Linked DNA regions of Homo sapiens: all the other regions are linked to region 2. The links are contacts of gene promoters, found by promoter capture Hi-C in blood cells and fetal thymus (Javierre and others, 2016). All regions are on one chromosome and are shown on one strand. Each heading gives the region's core, a stretch centred on a gene start or on the middle of the fragment in contact. The rest is flanking DNA. Distances are from core to core; before and after follow the strand shown. Region 1 holds the start of CEACAM3 (CEA cell adhesion molecule 3). Region 2 holds the start of CNFN (cornifelin). Region 3 overlaps DMRTC2 (DMRT like family C2).

Region 1 (3,031 bases), core at 170-2,669, 590 kb after region 2:
CATATGTGGGAAGTAGAACTGACCCCCAACACCCAGAGGTCATGTGGAAATACTCACGGTATACATGGAACTGTCCAGTTGCTTCTTCATTCACAAGATCTGACTTTATGACTTGTAGGGTGTAGAATCCTATGTCATTCTGGGTGACATTCTGGATCAGCAGGGATGCATTGGTGTATATTGTCTCTCGACCGCTGTATGCGGCCCCTGGGGTAGCTTGTTGAGTTCCTATTACATATCCTACAATTAGACTGTTGCCATCCACTCTTTCCCCTTTGTACCAGCTGTAGCCAAAAAGATGCTGGGGCAGATTGTGGACAAGTAGAAGCACCTCCTTCCCCTCTGCGACACTGAGCGGCATGGATTCAATAGTGAGCTTGGCAGTGGTGGGCGGGTTCCAGAAGTTTAGAAGTGAGGCTAGGAGGGAGAAAGCATCAGTCAATATTGGGACCCATGTATTGGGATGGAAAGATGGGGCCCTGGGTCCTGAGAGAGTCTCTTCACCCTTCAGCCTTGGAGAGTGTATGTGTGTCCCACTTGGTCAAGGTCAGTAACGTGACCTTTCTTTCTTCAGCACCTCTAACCTTGGCATTTTCCTGTGTGGAATCCCCTTCCCCAGGGGTCTGCATGGCTCCCTCCCCACTGCCCTCAGATCCTGCTCACATCAGGGCATCCTTGGGAGATCCCTCCCCTGACACCTCCTCTAGAGACCCTGGGTCTTCCCTTTCTGACCTTTTTCTGCTCTGTTCCCTCCAGGGCTCTTGTCAACACCTGAACTCACATTCTAGATCTCTTTGGGTGTCTATCTTCATCTCTGCAAGAGTGTAAGCTCTTTGAACACAGAGACTTGTCTGATATTTGTTGTACGCCAGTGCCTAAAATTTGATTGCAAATACTGGTGGATGAGTTAAGGAGTGGTGGTTATTTTGCAACTTGTGGTTGGTGGTCAAAGACAGGTTTTAGTGCCCTGGTTATATTTTTATTTAAAGTATCACCCTGATGTAATTCTTATTCTTATCATTTTCTAATTGTAGTGGCCAGTAATGATTAACTTGGAAAACATGATCAATGGATTTTCCTCCCTCTTATCAATCCCAGTTCAATGTGATTGTCTTGTTGTGACCCGTGTCCCTCTCTGATGTTCTCTCCCCTGAGGCTTCAGCAGAAGCCTTCTGTCCCCTATCAGAGCCCCATCCTCCCCAGGAGACCCCAGCCATTCTCTGTGATCCCTCCTCTTGCCCACTCCCAGGAATCCTCCACTCACCTGTGAGCAGAAGCCCCTGCCAGGGGATGCATTCTCTGTGGGGAGAGGCTGAGGGGGGCCCCATGGTCTCTGCTGCCTGCTCTTTCCTCCTCTGTGGAAAAGAGCCTGGGCTCCAGGAATGCTGTAGTCAGGGCTACTGTGACTTAGGCTCTGCTGTCCTTCCTCTTTCCATGCTGAGCCTCCTCCCAGGGCAGGAGCACTTTCCAGGGTCATGGGTGAAGCTCTGCCCAGGTCACCTCTCTGTCCCCTCCCCTCTCAGTTTTGCCTCATTTTCTCTTCTTCCTTTCTCCCTTCTGTCTACATTTGAGTTCCCCAGACCAGGCTCTGAGAAGCAAGGCTTACTTGGATCCCTGTTTCATAACAGGATGACCCTCCCTCCCCAGCGTGGACCTCTGCTCTGCCTTGGCCTTGGGTCTGTCAGCACCATGCAGAGTCCCTGGGGTCCCTGAACCTGGTGTTATTTTCTCTGTGACGGAGAAACTCCTTTGTGTGTGCAGGGTCTTCTTACTGTTCTCACATGTCTGGGAAGGTTGGATTTACTCCCAGCAAGGAGGTCACAGAGATGTCTGGGGTCCTACAAATGGATATATCTAGGGCTAAAGCCCGGATCTAAGATTCTGAGCTGTTCTTTCTGCAGCATTATGTGACTCTAATTTCCTGGGAGTAACTGAGAATGAGGCTTCACAGTGCTGTAGCTTTATGTCATCCAGACACCAGACATTTCTAGGCTGACTTTATGATTTTCTCTCTAGCTTGTACCACCTTTATTATTATATATTTCATCCTTTTTTCTAAATAAATTTAGTTTACAAAACATCCTGTCCTAGCAGGGATCGGTGGCTCAGATCTGTGATCCCAGCTACTCGAGAGGCTATGGTGGGAGGATGGCTTGAGGCCAGGAGTTGGAGACAAAACATCCTTGTCTTATGCAATATTGTCCATGAAATTACAGATTTGATGTGTGCTTAAATGTTTTCTCAATGTATATTAAAATAAACGCATAAGTATTAAAGTTTTTAAAAAGCTTACTTACGTTTCGCCTAAAATCAGTTTTTGGAAATGCTGACACAGTGGCATAAACATGAACTTTATGTCCAGATGTACCTGGGGACAGCTAATGGTTCTGTCACTTAACTATGTTGACTTGGACAAGTCACGTGGCTTCTATGATCCTTGATTCCCTGATTTGTAAAAGGAGGATGGTAAAATCCTCCTTGCAGAGTTGTTGGGAATAAGTGAGCTGCTGTGGGAGCCCCGTGCCCAGGCGGGTGTTGAGTACATGGTGGTTGTCATCGTGGTTATTGCTGTGGAATTCTGGTTTTCAAAGAGTGTCTACGCCGGAATATTGGGCTTGTGGCTTTCTGCTGATGTGGATGTGTGAAAAAGCTACTTTTGCTTGTTAGAACTTGTGGTGCATCTGTCATTATTTTCATTTCCCAGTTCCACTACCTATTTTCTCTGTGATGTTGGTCAAGTTGCCTAACTTTTCTGTGCCTCATTTACCTAATTTGTGAAATGTGGGTAACAGTACACTAGTGTGGGTGTGTTATTTCCCAGCTCTGACCACTAGAGGGCATAGAAGCACCGGCACCTACTAGCAATGGGCATATGGGCGCCCATGGTCTGTAAACATCATTCTCCCATGAAAGGAACCAGGGTTCCCTGGAGAAATGGCTGATTCCAGGGCTGGGGCAGGAAACCACAAGAGGAGACTGGAGCATCTTGCGGGGCCTGAGAGTAAGGCACAACTTGAAAAATGATGGGGAT
Region 2 (3,235 bases), core at 40-2,539:
TCAGGAGCCCAGCAGTGTGGAATCCCAGGACCCCTACCCTACTGAGGGATGTGCAGCCTGGCCTCATGAGACGCAGGAGTCCAGGGCCCCAGCCCCTCCTCCCTCAGACCCAGGGGTCCAAGCCCCCACTCCTTTGCTCCATTAGGACCCAGGAGTCCCAGGTGACGTCCACGTCCTTCAGGAACTGCGGCTTTTCAGTTCCCAGCCTCCTCCCTTCCCAATTTGGAGCTGGGGTGAGGTGTGTTTATTTACTTTGGTTCCAACATGAGTCATTCCCCAAAACACACTGCCCCCCATGTGTCTCCTGGCTTGAATGGGGAGGACACTGTCCCCCTCTCCCAGGAAAGTGGGGATATCACTGAGAGAGATGAGCGAGACCCTGAAAGGGGAGTCCCACACAGCACTCTCTCCCACTCCACCCGGCCTTTTTCTCTCCCCACCCATCACCTCTCCCCATTTCCCTGCCCTCTAAGCCTGTTCAGTGATCCCCCCACCTGCCTCTCCACTTTTCCATCTCCGTCTCTCTTCTGTCTCCCATCTCCCCTTTTCTTTCCTTTTTTTTTTTTAAGACAGGGTCTTGCTCTGTCACTGAGGCCGGAGTGTAGTGGCGGGAACACGGCTCACTGCAGCCTCAAACTTCTGGACTCAAGCGATCCTCCTGCCTCAGCCTCTCAAGTAGCTGGGACTACAGGCACATGCCACCATGCCCGGCTAATTCTATTTGTATTTTTTGTAGAGATGGGGTATCCCTATGTTGCCCAGGCTGGTCTTCAACTCCTGGGCTCAAGCGATCCTCTCACCTCAGGCGATTACAGGGTTGGGATTACAGGCGAGAGCCACCATGCCTGGCCCATCTCCCCTCTTCTTGTTATTTCTTTTCACATTTTTGTGCCCCTCTGTTTCTTGGCACCTCTCCATCTCTCTACATCTTCCTGCGTCTCTCCATCTCTCTGAATCTCCTCTCTCTCCTTTCTGTCTAGAGGGACTTCCCTGCCTGCCTTTCTGACACTGTGTTTCTGTCTCTCCCTCTCTTTTGGTCTCTGCGCATTGACCCGGCTGTGGCCCCCCGCCCCCGCCAAACCTCCCACCCCCCGCCACCTTCTTTTCCCTGGGTCCTGGGAGCTGAGGCAGGAGGAGAAGTGGGGGGATGGGAGTGGAGAGGGAGGGCGGGAAATCCCAGTGTGGGGAGAGGGTCGATCAGACCGGCTTGGCTCCCTGGGCACCTCTGTCAGAGCCCCGCCCAGGGCTGCGTGGCCGCCCATATAAGTGGCTCTGGGCTGAGACGGAGAAGTCAGTGCCCGTGTCTCCACACGTCTGCCTCCATCACTGCCATCGCGATCCTGCAGGTAGGAACATCCCCTCCGCAGCCCTCTTCTTTGAGGTTGGGCGCCTCTGCTCTGTTCTCCCTCCTCCTCATCCCACTCATATCACTCTGTCTCCTTTCATATCGCTGATTGTCGGTCTCTCGGGACATCTCTGTCCTTCCCAATGCCCCCAAATCTGTCCTTCTTAACTGGGGTGTGCTGAGCTGAATTTAGAAGTCTTGGGGCCCAGCATCACCTCTATGAACCCCCTTGGCCTGGGCCGTCAGACGTGGGGCGTTCCTCCTCATGTCTCTGAGCCTCAGTGCTCATCTGTGAGATGGGCTTGCAGAGGAGTCAAAGTGCTGGGCACATGTGGGCATTACTGGTGACATCTCTACGGGCACCTGGCTCTGATCTTTCTCCCCTTGTCTCTGACTCTGTCCATCTCCATTTCTTGTTCTCCCTCAAGCTCTATCTCGGGTATGGGGAGGGTCCTCTGCAATCTGTCGGGCAGTTGGAAAGACATGGGCGAGTTTCTCGCCCCCGCCCTATCCATTCCCTATTCCATGTCTCTCCTGGTTGACAGGCTGACTTGGCCTCTTTCTCCCCAGCTCCCCTCCCCCTGAGAGCCCAGCCCCCAGTGCCCCAGTCCCTTGCCCCCACCTCCCCAGTATCCAGCGTCCCTTGGACAGACTCTGCCACTGTTGCCACAGCCACTTCTGCCGTCCCCAACGCCACCTCCTCAGGGCCAGCAAGATGCAGTTTGAGATGCACGACAACGTGAAAGGCAAAGGTGGGACCGCTGGGTGGACCAGCAACCCTCTCAGTACTGGAACCTGGCCGCCTCCCTCCCCTGGGCACCCTTGCTTCGAAGACAGACGGCGCCTGCTTCCACCCCAGAGGCCCCAGAAATGCTGCAACCCAGAACCCAGGCCCAGACGTGGAGGAGGAGGCGGCACCGCCAGGCCCCACCCAGATGTGGTCCCCACCCTTCCTCAGATGTGCAGGAGACCCCCACCCCCAGCCTAACCAGACGTGCAGGAGCCAGCAGCAACAGGGACAGACTGGGGTTGCCGGTGCCCAGATGTAGCAGAAGGGAAGGGGGAGGCACAGTGGTGTCCCTTCAGTGGGCGGCCTGGCGGCCCCGCCCAGACTGCCCGGCACAGGGAAGGGTGGCCGAAGTGCGGGGCCCAGGAGATGCTGCGAGGCTGCCAGCTGACCCCTACCCTCCCACCTCTGCAGCTATGTCCTACCCTGTGACCAGTCAGCCCCAGTGCGCCACCACCAGCTGCTACCAGACCCAGCTCAGTGACTGGCACACAGGTCTCACGGACTGCTGCAACGACATGCCTGTCTGTGAGTGCCTGCCTGCTCCCTCTCCAGGCCTGGTGGAAGATGGGTTTGGGGGGAATCAGGAGAGGGAAGCTCACCTCCAACCTCCTCCCACCGCTTGCTAACCCCACTCCCACCTCCCTTCCCTGGACTTGGAATTCCCACTCTAACAGTCACCCTTTCCTCAGACCCCCAACACTCCTTAGGATACTACCTCATGCCTTCCCACACTCAACTTATCAGGCCCTCAACCTCCCCTTTGCATGCTCAGCTTTCCTCACTGTGACCCCCAACTCCCTCTTCAAACCCTAGCTCCTGGCCCAGTGCAGTGGCTCATGCCTGTAATCCCAACACTTTGGGAGGCCAAGGCATGACAATCCCTTGAGGCCAGGAATTCAAGATCAGCCTGGGCAACATAATGAGATCCCCATCTCTACAAAAATAAAAATAAAAAATAGGTCGGGCGCAGTGGCTCACGCCTGTAATCCCAGGACTTTGGGAGGCCATGGCAGGTGGACCACAAGGTCAGGAGTTCAAGACCAGTCTGGCCAAGATGGTGAAACCCCGTCTCTACTAAAAATACAAAAAAAAAAACCGGG
Region 3 (2,879 bases), core at 277-2,776, 540 kb after region 2:
CTTAGTTCAGAAACGTTCCCTGGCTCCCCTTCACATACAGTTGCTGTTCTAGACACCTAAGCCTGGCATGCCAGATCTCCACCATCAGAAGCCTCTCCAGCCTCCTTTCCCTCTGTTCTAGCATTTCCTCCAGGCCAGTCTGCCCAATCCACTATTTGGACAAGAGAATTCGCAGCTTTCCCTGTCTGTCCCCCTAGGTGTTTCTCACTCTTCAAGGTTCCTCCAATCTTCTTCAGGTTTGTCACTGAGCCTTGTGAAGGCATCCAATTTCCCTAACTAGAACGTAAGCTCCTTGAAGGCACTTATCAGACCTCCTCCCAGGCCAGACCCCACTTCAGACTTCAGCAGGCAGCCTGGGTCCAGAGACAGAGCATTGGGTTCCCTGCCACTGTCTCACTATATGCCCTTGGGCAAGTCCCTGCCTTTCTCAGTGCCCCACTTTCCTTGATATCAAGAAATTTGCTGTCGAGTGCCAAACTGATAAAAAGGATTCACTGAATAACTCTCAACTGCAATCCCAGGGGCCAGGCTGAGGAGCTTGGGGTCCTGGGCCTGAAGACGTTCAACCTGTCGACCCCCTCATCTCCTTGGTTAGTCCCTGTGTACTTCAGTGATCTCCATTTCCCAGCCATCCCTATCCATCCTCTCCTTTCATGGCCCACCTGGTGGGCCACAGGGGTGAAGCAGGGAGATCCAGGCAGGGTTGGGGGGCACAGAAGGGGTCACACGAGGAGCCTGGGATGAATCTTTCAGCCCCACGAGGGCTTCAGCTGCCTCTTGCTGCAGCTGCCACTCTGAGGGGCCAGATGTCCGGGCCAGGCACGAGGCTCCAGAGGCCTGCAAGGGAAAGGGAGACAAGCAGACTGGGAACCCCCGCTTCTGCCCACCCTCTAAGTGTTCCTCAGCCCCTGCTTCCTTCAGTTTCCTGCTTTTTCCTTCCCCAGGCTCAACCTCCTCCCAGGGCCCTAGATCCCACTTCTTTCCCAGGACCTGTGGCTGTAGCTGAAGAGGGTCTGGGGTGCCACAGGGCTGGAGTATCAGAGTTGAGTGTCTAGAAACAAGGAGAGAAGATGCCAGGGTGGTTAAACAGATGAACAGACATGCACACATTGAAAGAGGGGCAGGATTTTGCCATGTTTTGATCTGGGAATCTGAGAGCCTGCTGGGCCATTAAGCTGTGTCTTGACTTATTTTGTTTTCAGTAAAGTAAAAATCCTTGCCAGTTTTTCCTCCCAGGGCTACTGTGAGGATTATGGGAAATCACTAGTGTCTTTTTTTTTTTTGAGACAGGCTCTTGCTCTGTCACCTAGGCTGGAGTGCAGTGGCGGTGTGATCATGGCTCACCATAAGCTTGAACTCCTGGGCCTACACCATCTTCCCACCTCAGCCTCCTAAGTAGCCAGGAAAACAGGTGTGCACCACCATTCCTGGCTGTTTTAATTTTTTTGTAGAGACGAAGTCTCGCTCAGTTACTCAGGTGGTCTCAAACTCTTGGCCTCAAGTAATCCTCCCACCTCAGCCTCCCAAAGTGTTGGGATTACAGGTGTGAGCCACCAGGCCCCACCTGATGCCGGTTTTTAAAAAAACACCTAGAAGACTGAGATTACTGTCCCTGACCTATCAGAGTCTGGGTCCCATTCCCCCAGTTCCCCAGTCACCATAGAACTTGAAGGAGAGCTTGGCTCACCTTTGGGAAGCTTTTCCTAATGGCCTCTGGCCCCTCTCCTGGGTCTCTGAGGCTCTCATCATCTCTGCCCCCCATATCAGCAGGCAATCTTACCCCATCAAATCTGTCTAAGCAGATATAACAGCTACCATTAAAGAGTCTGTGCTAGGTCTATTCCATACATTATTGCTAATTCTTACAACAATCAGAGAGGTAAGTAATAGTGTCTCCAATTTACTGATAGAAAAACAGGCTCAGAGAGGTAAAGATAATTGTCCAAAGCATCACAGCTAGGAAATGGCAGTACTAGGAGAGCTCTGCCTTGCCTATTAGTCAGAGACCTTTTCATCTTCATTATCCACTGTGGTTGGACACCAGCACTGTGGTTGGACACAGCACAGGCTTAGGCTTATGATACACATCCTTCTCTCCCTACTCACGTGCGGGGCTGGCTAGGGGGCCCTTGGGGCTCTCCAGAAAGAGGAGCTGTCAGTACTGGGTGAGATCCTGGGCAGGTGGTGAAGGGCCCATGAGTGGGCAGCTGGAGGGAGGTGCCAGGGTCAAAGCCTAATAAGAATAAAAGAATGCAGAGTGTATAGGGGCCAAGGTCATAGTTTCTTTCCTCCCTCTCCCCACCTATGCTTTCTTCCTCTTCCCTCTCCAATATGTGGCAGATTGGCACTCAAATATATGTTGAATGAATGTTGAATTATCATCTTACCAGGGAAGGGAGGCAGAGAGACAGCAGGTTCTTGGTACAGCAGGCGGCACACCACTGGTGGTGGCATGGAGAAGCCTGGAGGCAGCCAGTGTCCAGGGACCCAAGGGCCAGGAGGCACCGGAGTCCAGGACAAGGGCGAGGCTTCCGGGGGATGGCTGAGCAGCAGAGGCCCACAGGAGTTCTGCAGGGGCAGAGGGCACAGGCTGGAGTTGGGTACAAGGCTGGAAAAGGATTGAGTGTATTCTGGGATACGGGCAGAACCCCAAAACTTTGGGGCTGGGAGGCCCTCGTTTTCCCCTCATTTTGCCTAGAGAAGAGCAGTGATTTGACTAGATTACATAGCAAACCAGGGCTGGGGCTAGAACCCAGGTGTTGAGGGCACAGAAGAAAGGGTCTGGGTAGGAACTAGGGTGGGGGACACTTTCTCAGGCCCCAGCCTCTCCTTACCTTCCCGGGGGGTGTCGGTGCCAGCAGGACTGCCCCATGGGGGGT

Evidence for each region. Contacts are between HindIII fragments. The CHiCAGO score rates a contact against its expected background, and 5 or more counts as called.
Region 1: the fragment with the promoter of CEACAM3 here is called in contact with the fragment with the promoter of CNFN in region 2 in 8 of 17 cell types (naive CD4 T cells, non-activated CD4 T cells, total CD8 T cells and 5 more); the score reaches 7.1 in naive CD4 T cells.
Region 3: a fragment that was not itself captured here is called in contact with the fragment with the promoter of CNFN in region 2 in 1 of 17 cell types (naive B cells); the score reaches 6.3 in naive B cells.

What each region holds. Positions count from the first base shown.
Region 1 is chr19:41,794,975-41,798,005 of GRCh38, reverse strand. It overlaps CEACAM3 (CEA cell adhesion molecule 3), which reads right to left and starts at 1,419. Exons shown (of 7, transcript NM_001815.5): 1 at 1,265-1,419; 2 at 58-417. The coding sequence starts at 1,328. The HindIII fragment of the contact is 3,675 bases long and covers 1-2,290 here.
Region 2 is chr19:42,388,351-42,391,585 of GRCh38, reverse strand. It overlaps CNFN (cornifelin), which reads left to right and starts at 1,289. Exons shown (of 4, transcript NM_032488.4): 1 at 1,289-1,346; 2 at 2,547-2,660. The coding sequence starts at 2,549. The HindIII fragment of the contact is 9,287 bases long and covers 1-3,235 here.
Region 3 is chr19:41,848,484-41,851,362 of GRCh38, reverse strand. DMRTC2 (DMRT like family C2) reads right to left here. Exons shown (of 9, transcript NM_001040283.3): 4 at 2,835-2,879; 5 at 2,388-2,568; 6 at 2,107-2,233; 7 at 991-1,051; 8 at 663-837. Among named protein-coding and RNA genes, the nearest start is that of DMRTC2, 4.9 kb to the right of the region's middle. The HindIII fragment of the contact is 347 bases long and covers 1,353-1,699 here.